Regions from separate parts of the Homo sapiens genome. Here region 2 is linked to region 1. Evidence: promoter capture Hi-C in human tissues and cell types (Jung and others, 2019). All regions are on one chromosome and are shown on one strand. Each heading gives the region's core, a stretch centred on a gene start or on the middle of the fragment in contact. The rest is flanking DNA. Distances are from core to core; before and after follow the strand shown. Region 1 holds the start of KBTBD7 (kelch repeat and BTB domain containing 7). Region 2 has its middle 5.3 kb from the start of AKAP11.

Region 1 (6,004 bases), core at 3,112-5,611:
GCTTTGTATTAAGTGCAGTACTTATAACATCCCTGATGTCAAATGTACAAAATTTAGCTTTAGGTCACTAAAGCATGTTTACCCTTTTGAAGAAACATGTATTGCTAGGTCAGCCATCCTACTTCACTGGAAATAACGTTAAACTTGTAGACTGTTCAAATGGCCAATCAAAATGACTAAGAAACATTATCGTGTGTTTTTTTGTTTGTTTGTTTTTTCATCCTTTCTCTTTCCTTTTCGTTCAAAAATTCAGTTCCCCATCCTAGACCAGACTCCTCTGTCCTCTGCCAGGGTATAAGAAAAGTTAGCATTCTGTCACTATAGAACATAGAAGAGGAATTAGCATGTTATTGAATAAAGAATCAGGAAGATAATTCTAATTGGGTATAGAAAAATTTATACACCATAAACATCTGTATATGTACACCATTTATCATATATACGTATTGTGACAACCATATGTATTAATAAACCTTCAAAAGGTAAGCACCTATATTTTCTTGTAATTAACAATTTTAGTTTTGTGCAATGTAGTCTATATTTGTGGACTTCCCCTTACATATGGTGACAGAGAGACTGAAACATTGTTCACAGAGAAACACAGAACATATACAAATCTCATAATAAAATAACCATGTATACCACTGTTTAGGGAAATATTTTAGAGGAAACATACTTTCACTACTGGCCCCAAATCCCATCATCCACTTAGGTTCTTCAATGTCAACTTTTAATACAAAAATACCTTCAAGCTGATAATTAAGAACATTCACAATGACTTACAAAATGGACAATATTCCAATGCTACACAAAACGGTTCTATAATACACAGCTTAAAGTTTTAAAGTTCTTGGCTGGCAGTTGATTTTTTTTATAGCTGATAGACACGATAACTACTGATCTGAGTAAAATACTGTTTTTAGCTTATACATATGTTCTAAACCATATTACCTCACAAAACAGTAAAGAATAAATCACTTTCTGTTGAAGAATCCTCTAGGACAAACACCAAACCTACACAGCCAAAATATTTTAGGGAGGCAAGTAAACATTTTAAGACAAATCATGACCAGTGGATAAAAATTTGCATTACCCAATTATATGTCCAGGAATTGTTCCTCTGAGTCAGTAAAGCATGTATTGGGCATAAATTAAAAACACAAACATAAAAAGCAAGTTACCGTTTTTTTTTTTTTTTTTGGTTTAGAAGGGTGTTTAATTCATGACATTACTAAGAATGGGTGTTTTTTGGGATAGAAAATTGGTCACATATACCAAATACACATTTTATATTCCAAAATAAAAACTGAGATTTCTTTTAAAACAGTGGAATCCTGATTTTTTCTTTTTTTTTTTTTTTTTTTTTACTTTCTGTGAGCTTATGAGGCCATTCTGCACATTATCAAAATGAAATCATTATGCAGTAACCTTATATATATAAATCCAATTTTTTCCTTTGTAGAAGAAAACCAAAATAATTTTACAAACTACATTTAACTTAGAATATAAAGAACTGACTAGTGTAAAATTTTGAAAATCTACCACTTTATTTTGAAGGAAAGTACACATCCTTCAAAACCCCGCTAACAATTCCTAGTTCAGTTTTCTATTATACAAATCAAAAAGTTAAATTCCTTGTGGCACTAACCAAAACTTAAAAATTAACAGAAGACTGAATTAATTAAAAAAAAAGCATACTAACTAATCAAAACAATCCACTGTGCAATGAATATTTGAACAATGAAAAAAACCTACCAAGCATCCTAATCAATTATATAGTTCTTGCTTCCATATTTTAATTCTGGACTTTCAGGATGGTAAATTATTAAACAGGTCGATTTCATGGACTGTCTAAACCTTGTAGTATTTCAAAATATTACCCTTTCTAAACCAAATCTGTGGTCCTAATCAACTTTTTTTCCAAGAAAAAGAAACGATATGTGTTTAAAATACATTCCGTAGCAGTAGAAACATCTTAGTGTCTCAAAATACTATTTACAAAGAACCCTGCTGATCCTGTGCATTTCGCTGAGGTGCTACTTGCACCCAGACTTCATCATCTGAAAAAGAACTTGAACTTCCTGACTCAGAGTCCAGCTCACTGAATCCATCTAAGTCCCATTCAGTACTAGACTCACTCCGTGCATCATCTTCCTCAGTAATAAAACTCTGACCAGGTTCAAGGCAGGAAGGATAAACACGAGCACAAAGGCAAATAAAGCCAGAGTCAAACTGCAAAAGGCCTAACATGGTACCTATATTAATCCACTGATCTTCCCTAGTATCATACTCATACACTGTCACTCGGTTCTTTTTCCATTGTGGGGTTGTAGAAGTGATGAGAAGCAACTTTTGGTCATGATTGACAATCTGGTAGTTGTGGGTCTCTGAATCCAAAGGAATATTACTAATCCGCCTCCATTCTCCCCTAGCTGGGTTGTAGACCTTCATGACTGGGATGTCACAGATACAATAGATTTCATCATTGAAGACACATGCTTCCTGAAAGTCACTACGTTTAAGAGAAGCACAGTTCAGCCACATATTGTGGCTAGGATCATAGCAAAGCATGCGCTTACTGTTGACAGCATAAAGATAGTTCTGAACCACTATGAGTTCAAAGGAATAGAAGGAATGAGGGACAGGAGCCACCAATGCCCACTGGTTTCTCTGAACACTGTAGCATTCCACTTCCTTCAACTTAACTCCAGTAATAGGGTCTCGTCCCCCCAAAATGTAGATGTAGCCATTGAGATATGCCACATCCATGCCCTCACGACACAGCAAGCGATCTGCAAGTTGCTGCCAACTATTCTGAGCTGGTTTATACACCCAGAGGTCTTTCCTGGGCTGAGCAGCTAGATAGATGTCATGGTCTGGGGACACACAGACAGCTGAGGAGGTGACAGTCTTAGTGTGAGCAAAGCTGGTCAAAGGGGATGGCATTGTGTAAATGTCCCCCGAGTAAGGGTCATAGCAGAGAAAGGGATCTCTAGGATGTCCAAAGAAGATCACCATCTCCTTGGCACACATACCCAGTCTCTGGGGTGGATTTTCTGCTGCAGATACAAGAGAGTTGCTGCTGCTACTGCTGCTGCTGCTGTTTGGCACTGGCACCAGAGACTTGTACAACAGGTCACCATAGCGCATCTGCAGGGCCCCTTCAATAACGTCCAGGCAGTACTTCTTCACGATGGGCTTGGTCAGCAGCCCTTCTAAGTAGTCCTGATCTTCTTCAGTGAAGTGCATCCAGCGCACGCACTTGAAGACTTCTGCAGCACTGGGACCCCGCTCTTTGGCAGCAGCCTCCAGCCACTGCACAGCTACATGGCATACAGTCCGCTCACTCTCTATGTCCAGACTATCCAGGCGTAGGACAGCCAGCAGCTGGGCCAGGGTTAGATCTGCTAGAGTCTCCTCCCGAATTGAACCCATTCGGCTGAGCTGCTTGAAGTTGTGAGCTATGTAGGACTGGGCCTGAGATCGAAGCTTGTGATGGTCGAAGGCGTCTGCAAACTTGAGGATGGCGGTGCAGTTGGTCAGGTCAAGACGTCGGGCTAAGAAGGAGGCACAGGCTTCCCGCACATATTCCAGCTGTAGCATGTCGGAGGCCGCGTACAGGCGCTGCACATTGGCCTCACTGAGAGACACACGACCCGTGTAGCAGTAGTCGACCAACACCTCGAAGGACTCGGCGTCCACATCGTGCATGGTCACGCTGGCCTGCTGGCTCTCGTACATGCCACCTGTGAACATGCTCTTGAAGTAGGGACACGCAGCTGCTAGCACGTTGCGATTGCAGGAAAAGAGGCGACCCGTGCCAGGCCCGCTGCCAGGCGTCACCACCTCGATGGTCACATCACACAGCAGCCGCGCGTCGTAGAAGGACTTGAGCTGTGCCAGCAGGGCTGCAGAATGGGCCGTGTCCTTTAACTCCTCTGGACCCGTGAAAAAGGCCGAAACCGAGGGCTTGGAAATCCTCTTGGGCCGCCTCCCACCACGGGGACTGGCGAGGCGGCGAGAGCGCGGGACGTCTTCCCGGGACTGCATGGTGGAGATGGCGACGGGCGCTGACGGCGAGAAAGGCTGCAGGACCAGGCTCTGGCTCCTCCTCAACCTTCCCTCGCTGACGCTAAGACAAGCCGCGTCCTGGAACAGACTGCGGCACGGGCCGCACTTCTGAATTCAGCCCTATCCCGCGGTGAGGCCTCCCTTTATTGCATAGACAGTGGCTGACTCACCCTCTCTCACTCCCGCGCCCTTTCTCCGCCTCCGCTCGCCCTCACAGGACCCGCTGGCTTGCAGCCGCGGAAGCCCCCACTGCCGCGCTGGCGATCCCGCTAGGCGCCCGGGAGAACTACTGCTCCCAGGTTGCCTTTCGCGCCCCGAGGCCTGCTGGGGCTCTCGGACGGCCGGGCGGGGACAGAGGGAAAGAAACCGCTTTGCATGTTGGGAGTAGTAGTTTGTGTAATATCGCGAGCTGTCCTTTAGTTGACTGCTCTAACAGTAGAAATTAATTCTCCTGGATTTGATGGTGAAGAGACTGTTGCCCAGGCTGGTCTTGAACTCCTGAGGGCTCAAATTATCCTCCTGCCTCGGCCTCTCAATGTGCTGGGATTACAGGCGTGAGCCACCGCCCCCTGCCAGTATTTCATAGGGTTTTGTGTGGTTCAATGATACCTTACATGGGATACTTAGATACATGTATGTTTTTGGTTAGAAGAATAGTAAAGCGTTACCCCGTGCCTAGAATGTAGCCAATAACTGTTAGATTCTCTTTTATAATTTATGATAAATGAGGCACCCACTAATTTGAAACCGAGTATTATTTTAAACCGCAAAATTTTACAAAGAATTTCTAGTTTTTAATGTTTATTCCTTCGAAAGATTTTGAAGGGCATTAACAATATTTTCAATATTAAATGATATCTATTGGTCTCGTTTAATAAGGATGTCTTAGACGACTAGGTTGAGGTCCTAAAGAACAGTATTAATAGATGGTCTCAAATACGCAAATCCAGCATATAAAAATAAATTATTTGCTGCTCTCACTAACATTTCATCTCTGGAGAGCAGGAGTATTTTCGTTAAGCTCCAAATATGAGTGTTTTCAAGTCGTCTAATACAGCCTCTTTCACTGCCGTTCCACAAATCAATTAACAGATTATGTAATTCCCTTTATTAAGGAGTTTTAGGGAGTATTTTAACTCAAAATATTTCAACAAACAGACTTTGTTCTGTACAAAAGCACATGATTCTCAGAATTCAACATCAGTACATGCCCTGACATTCCTTGAATTAATATATAGTATAGTCTATGCTTTACAAAGTCTTTTATATTTGCATTGGGATCAACAGTTAAATCATCAAAATCAAGTATTAGAGATTTGAGGCAGGAAAATAGGGTCTGGAGGCAGGGAACATAAGGCTGATTCACACTTTAGCTATAACAGGAAAGATCCTCTCCATAGGGTGTATGCTGAGTAAATGAGTTTGTAACTTTACTTCATTCTCTTCATTTACATAGGGTGTACACCAAGTAACCAGTGGAATCCTCTAGAGGGTATTTAAACCTTCAGAAATTCTGTAACAGGGCCCTTGAGCCCCTATGCTCAGGCCCGCTCCCCACTGTGGAGTGTACTTTCATTTTCAGTAAATCTCTGCTTTTGTTGTTTCATTGTTTCCTTGCTTTGTTTATGTGTTTTGTCCAATTTTTTGTCCAAAACGCCAAGAACCTGGACACCCTCCACCAGTAACAGACTTTTTCAGATAACTTTTATTACAAAACCATGACTGCTCCTGCTGCTAGTTTGTTATGTTACCATAACCTAATAAAGAAAATCATCAGTGTTACATGCATGTATGGATAACACATTACAAGAGAATAACTTTCAAATTGTTTTTCTCTTATCAGCTGAAGATAACTTCAACTTATCAGCTGAAGTCCACTGGAAATACTCTAGGGTAGACACATTAAATTAAGTCAGCCTCTGGGCTCTAATAA
Region 2 (6,199 bases), core at 1,569-4,068, 1.1 Mb after region 1:
AAAAATCTGTCCTCTTCCTCTGGAAGGACAGAGGAAGCCTCAGATAGTTCTCAGACATTAGCATTTCAACCTCAGTTTACTATATCCCTCTGAGTCTCCCCTTCTTCAGGTTAAATACCAACAAGATAAGTTTCACATATGAGATATTCCCTTAGGCTCCTCACCTCTGGTCATATTTCACTATGGCTAATGCAGGTGCATACTGACTAGTTAGAGTACAGTAGGACTAGCACCTCTTTTGTCTTGAGCATCACACTAGCATTCATGTAGCCTAAAGTTGCATTTGCCATGTTTTGGTAGCTGCATCCTTCCGATGAAGAAGATTGGACTAACCATAAAGGGTTGCAGGCCAGTAAACCAATAAATCAGAAATGGTTGGCTACTTTGATGTTCATGAAGATTGGCTATCAAGAAATCCTAGTCTATCTTTCAGAAGCTTAGCTGATTTCACATATTCCATTGTGGTGAAGGGGAACAAATGTGTTCAAGATGACTTTGGGCAATCCAAAATAAATTGGGATCAAATCTAGTAAGGGGACAGACTGGATATCTCTAACGTAGTTTAGTGGCTTAAAATTGCAAATAGAGCAAGGATTTCCTACAGCCTGGGCTAGGAGGCATTTGGGGGTCTTAAAAGTTCTACCACTTTTCAACCTAGATTTTTACCCCAGTGTTTAATGACTTTCTGTACCGTATGTAAGCATGTATTAATAATATTCATGTTTCATATGCATGACTATTACCTCCTTTAAAGATCTAATCACGTAAGGATATTTCTGTTAAATTTCATGTGAGCTAACTAATGAATAAGGATGCTCTGACTGACACTTTGAATTAATGTTTCATTTTTCAAGCAAAGCAGCTAAGCAACAGGAATGACAGACCCAGAAATAACTTGTTCTAAGATCTGTTTTATCTTGTCATAAAGTTAGGACAATATTCCAAAAGCTGACCTTGTCCTTTAGATATATAATCCAGGGGAAGTCATCTAACATCTTTTTTAAAGCAGTAAGCATGTATGCTATTGGCTCACATGAAGAGGAAGTCTATCTCACTTTTTGCAAAAGACATTTTTTAAAAGTTGTGTATAAATTTTATATGGTAAATTAAACTATTATTTACTTATGCTAAATGCTTTTGAAATGCTTGATAACATTCATGCTTCTTTGAACTTGTAATGTCTGTAACATAAGCTTTTTATAATACCTTGCACTTCTAATTTAACTATAAACCAGTCATGTAAAATCAGCAGAGCAATGATATTTAAATAAACTCTTTTATCTTATCAACTAGTTACATTTAGGCATAATTACTTGTTTTTGAACTTTGGACAAGTATATATTACATTTTCTTAAAAGAAGGTACATCTATGTTTTACATATTAGAAGTATTATAATTCAGTAATTAGCTATGATTTAAATCAGAAGAATCATTATATTTGAGTAAAATATATAGTAGGACTCAGATTGATTTTGCTGTTCAAGAAGTGTTTAATTTGGATTGGCACTTCTGAATTATCATTTGTACTATATTTACTAATTAGTATAGTTAGGATTCTATGATTTTAGCATTGAACAGTTAATGAGTGCCACCGTGTATTAAAATATCACTAGGTATAATTTTAACAGTGGTTAAGATGTGTCTCTATCCTTATAAAGACACTCGCTACAAAAGAATTAGGTAAGTGCTGTGAAATTAAATCATTTAAACTTAAAGCTGTTGGAACTTTACATTATTCTGTGCCTTGAGAGGAACATGGCTCTGCAGCCTGAGTCACACGGCATGCAGTTGCAACTTCTGCTCTTTTTTTTCTGTAAATAATTAGTAAGATCAAAAGGCACCAGATATAAGACCCTCTCAGATCACTACTCTTACTCACAGAGTAATAAAGTCATCTTCCTTGGAATGTAGCAATCTATAACCAATCAAATTGCTGTAATACACTGGTCTCCTGTGGAAAATGTGATAATCCTGCTAAAATTTCTCTCTCTGAGACTATGTAAGTGAAACCTTAACTTCTCCACTTTGGAATACTGACCCCATTCATCTGGAATTGTTGTTCCCAGGTTGTCATCCTCAAGCTTTATGCTCAAATAAACTCCATACTGAATCATATTTTCTGAATCTCATTAAGGTTGACAGTATGTACATTATAAAGTATATAGTAGACTGTGATATAATATATAGGCATTCAAACCGAAGGCATAAAAGAGGTATTTCACCTCTTGAACTTAAAAAGCACCTTTACATATTTAAACAGCTGATGAAACTGTAATTTCCACATTTTTCCCCTTTCAGAATGTTTTATTAATACATTGGTTTATTAAGTATTAACAAATTTGGCTGGATGCAGTGTCTCACGCCTATAATCCCAGCTCTTTGGGAGGCTTGAGCCCAGGAGTTCAAGACCAGCCTGGGCAACATAGCAAGACTCTGTATCTACAAAAAATTTTAAAAAATAGCCAGATGCAGTAGTGCGCACCTGTAGTCCTAGCTACACTGGAGGTAAGTGGGGAGGATCACTTGAGCCTAGGAGCTCAAGACTACACTGAGCTATGGTCACTGCACTACAGTTTGGGTGACAGAGACTCTGTCTCCAAACAAACACAAAATAATAATAAGTTAAATAATACATGTAAAGCAACCATCAAATAACTGGTCTGCTCCATTATTTTTTCTTGTATTTTCTAATGTTCTATATAACGTGTGTATTAATTCATAATCATAAAAAACAAAGTCCTAAAACTGAACAATGTAGAAAAGAAGGACTTGACATCTCACTTTTACAAGTGAGCCACCAGCTGGGACCATCACTCAGGCAGGAAATATCACTCAGGCAGGAATTCAGCAAGTGGGCCAAAGGGAGACTCAAGTTTTCAAACAGGAAGCGATATGGAATCTGCTCTTGGCTGTCAGAGGCTGCTACTGTAAAGCTCCAAAGCTCCTGGGGAAAGATGATGCCTGCCTTTGTAGTCAGAAGGTCACCAAGGGTATTAAGCTGAGAGGCTAGCTTTGTGTATTAGGCTTAGTTTTGTTGAAAGGTAGGACCAGACCGAACTAGCTAATTTTAGTCTGAACTATTCCATTTAGTGCCCCATGTGATCCAGAATAAATCATTCAACCTTGCTGGGTCATAATTCTTTCATGTGCCTATAACCCAAATGTCTTGTTTCTATTACAGTATGTCTAAAAATGAAAGAAATATTTCCATTAACTTAGAAAATTACAGTGGAGGAGACACCACCAATTTGATTGCTGGAAATTGGCCCACTAAAATGTCCCTAGGAGACACACAGGGGTTCCCAGGCACCCTCTTGGGTGCCCTTGGACACAGGCTGTGTTCCCTGACTTGCCACCCTGCTGCCCTGGCTCCTTTGTACACCACTGGTCTCTCCTCTCCCTACCCCGTTTCTGTGAGGAGTATGAGCAGGGGACACCTGTTTTCTCCCTGCTGCAACATCCCAAGCATGGGACATGCCTTGACATTCATTTCCCTTAACATAGCACAGATTTGGCTTATAGCATTTATCAGGACTTTACTGAGGACTCCTGACAATACAAATTAAAGAGAATAAAGAATAGTCTGGTAAGACACCCTCCTTCCCCGCTTCTCTTTTTTTGAATAGTTATTGAGTACCTACTATGTGCCTTAGGAACTCCTAAGCAAAAACAGAAACAGCCCTTGCTCATGGATCTCACAGTTCAGTGGAGGAGGGAGACAGACATTAACTAGGTAACCACACAAATAAAAATTGTTATAAGTTGATAAATGCGTTGAAGAAAAAGTAGGGAGTCCTAAGTAAAGGGGATTTACTTAGTCTGGGGAGTTAGGACGAAAGTTCCTGAGGAAGTGACAGTAGAGTTGAAAGGTGAAGGATTCTTGGGCATTCAGCTGTTAACAGGGATGGACAGAGAAAGAATATTGGATCCTGAAGAAACAGCCTGTGGAAGGTGATGAGGCAGGCAGGGTCTGGTCCTATTTTGAGGAACTGAAAAGGGGACAGTCTGAAAGGGAGAATGATATGAAAGCAAAGGAGAAAAGCAGATTATGAGGAAAACCATGAGAAGCCACTGAAGGATTGTAAGCAGGGGAATGGCATGGTCAGATGCAGTAGAAATGGCAGCCCTCTGGAGATAGAGTGCACATACTTCAACCAGCAGGCAAAAAAGACAAATCCTGGAAGCAAAGGAACGGTGCTAGGAGGAGAAATATGAACTCTGTAAATGGGATAAATAGAACGTCTTCTATTTTTTAGAGTATTAAAAAGAATCAGCAACATCCACACAAAATTTGTATAGGAATATTCAAAGCAGTATTATTCATAATAGCCAAAAAGTAGAAACAACTGAATTGTCTGTCAACTGATAAGTTGGCCAATAAAACTGTGCTATATACATAGAATGGAACTGTTATTCGGCAATAAAAAATAAATGAAGTACTGATACACGCTTCAACATGGATGATCCTTTAACACATGCTAAATGAACGAAGTGAGACCCAAGAGACCATGTATTGTATGACTCCATTTATATGAACTGTCCAGAATAGGCAAGTCTTTTTTATTTTTTATTTTATTTTTATTATACTTTAAGTTCTAAGGTACATGTGCACAACATGTTACAGAGGTATACATGTGCCATGTTGGTTTGCTGCACCCATCAACTTGTCATTTACATTAGGTATTTCTCCTAATGCTATCCCTCCCCCAGCCCCCCAACCCCCTACAGGCCCCGGTGTGCGATGTTCCCCGCCTTGTGTCCTGTGTCCATGTGTTCTCATTGTTCAACTCCCATCTATGAGTGAGAACATGCGGTGTTTGGTTTTCTGTCCTTGTGATAGTTTGCTTAGAATGATGGTTTCCACCTTCAGAATAGGCAAGTCTTTATAGACATAAAGTTGATTGGCTGCTACTGAGTATGTGAGTTTCTTTTAGGGAGGAACAAAACTTCTAAAATTAGATTTTGATGACAGTTGCACAACTGTAAATCTACCAGAAGCACTGAATTGTATGGTAAATGGATTACATCTCAGTAAAACTGTTAAAAAACACAGTTTTAAAAAGAATCCAGGAACTGGGGACACAGCAGAACTGGATCTCAATCCTAATTTTTTCTCACTTTGTATTAATGTACTGCAAATAATTGTAGCTAGCACAAGAGAGCACAATGACTGTCTTGCTAAGGTGAGTTGGGAGGATTTATTTCGGGCTCTGTTAATACATGTTCGATTGGGAGAGTTGGGCCCAGAGTTCATCTAAATTAGTAGTACCAAGCAGCTGTTTCAGTTAATCATTATGAGGGCTGTAAACACTCAAAAAATACTCAATTAACATTTTAAAAGAATGGTCCTACTTTGTTAAAATAGTACTTTTTCTCTTTTTGGCGTTTTTCCTTTTAAAAAGTAGCCCTATGTATCTTGAAATCTTGCTTTCGTTAAAATTAAGGTGTTAGCTTAACTTTAGGATATTGCCTCAGACCTTTTAAAAAATGTATTTGCTATCTAGTTCTTAAACTCTGATTAGGAACACATGAATCATTATTTAATACTACACAGGTTCAAAATAGCTTAAGAGAGATGGAATTCGAGGTTGAGCAGGTGGCGGTGTTTCCGTTTTCACACTCTGAGAAGGCCAAGGTTTCTTAGGGAAGCATTCCTGGTATCTGTATCAACCGTTTTCAGAGTTATTCAGCTGGTGTGTGTGTGTCTAATTTCATTTGGGTTGAGCCGCTGACTCTGTTAGGTTTTCATAAAAAATCATTTCATTTCCCTTTCCAGCTTCCGTCCTACTGGTATGTGCATGTTAAAGTGTAATTCAGGCTTAACTACTTTAGGTGTAGGCTAGTTACATTGCTTTGTTTTATGTATGAGGAAGCTGAGACTCAGTGGTGATAAGGAACCTTGATTTGGTTGTATCACTAATGACAGAGCTTCGAGTTGGAACTCATCTCCTGATTCGTTTCTTTTGGTGAAACATCCTCTTGATTTCTGAGCTTTCAACCTCTATCTTTTCAAATCTTACACTAAAGAATAAGTATCTGCGTAGAATTTCATTTTCTGTTCCCAGAATTGACTTTAAGAATAGACAGAAGAGGTGGTTGTCAGTGTAGCATAATGGAGGGAAAAAAATTAAAGATGGGCCCTTCCTTTTCAGCCATTTGTTTTCCCCCAGGTAACAAAAGAAAATCCTCCATTTTATTT

Evidence for each region. Contacts are between HindIII fragments. The study calls those that stand out against the background at their distance.
Region 2: a fragment that was not itself captured here is called in contact with the fragment with the promoter of KBTBD7 in region 1 in 1 of the 25 tissues and cell types used here (dorsolateral prefrontal cortex).

The regions. Positions count from the first base shown.
Region 1 is chr13:41,190,208-41,196,211 of GRCh38, forward strand. It overlaps KBTBD7 (kelch repeat and BTB domain containing 7), which reads right to left and starts at 4,362. Exons shown (of 1, transcript NM_032138.7): 1 at 1-4,362. The coding sequence starts at 4,050. The coding sequence ends at 1,996. All of the region lies in intron 3 of KBTBD6-DT (KBTBD6 divergent transcript), which reads left to right. RefSeq lists enhancers at 3,104-3,811, 3,812-4,518, 3,863-4,132, 4,443-4,532. The HindIII fragment of the contact is 7,226 bases long and covers 1,015-6,004 here.
Region 2 is chr13:42,263,776-42,269,974 of GRCh38, forward strand. No RefSeq gene overlaps it. Among named protein-coding and RNA genes, the nearest start is that of AKAP11, 5.3 kb to the right of the region's middle. The HindIII fragment of the contact is 4,008 bases long and covers 815-4,822 here.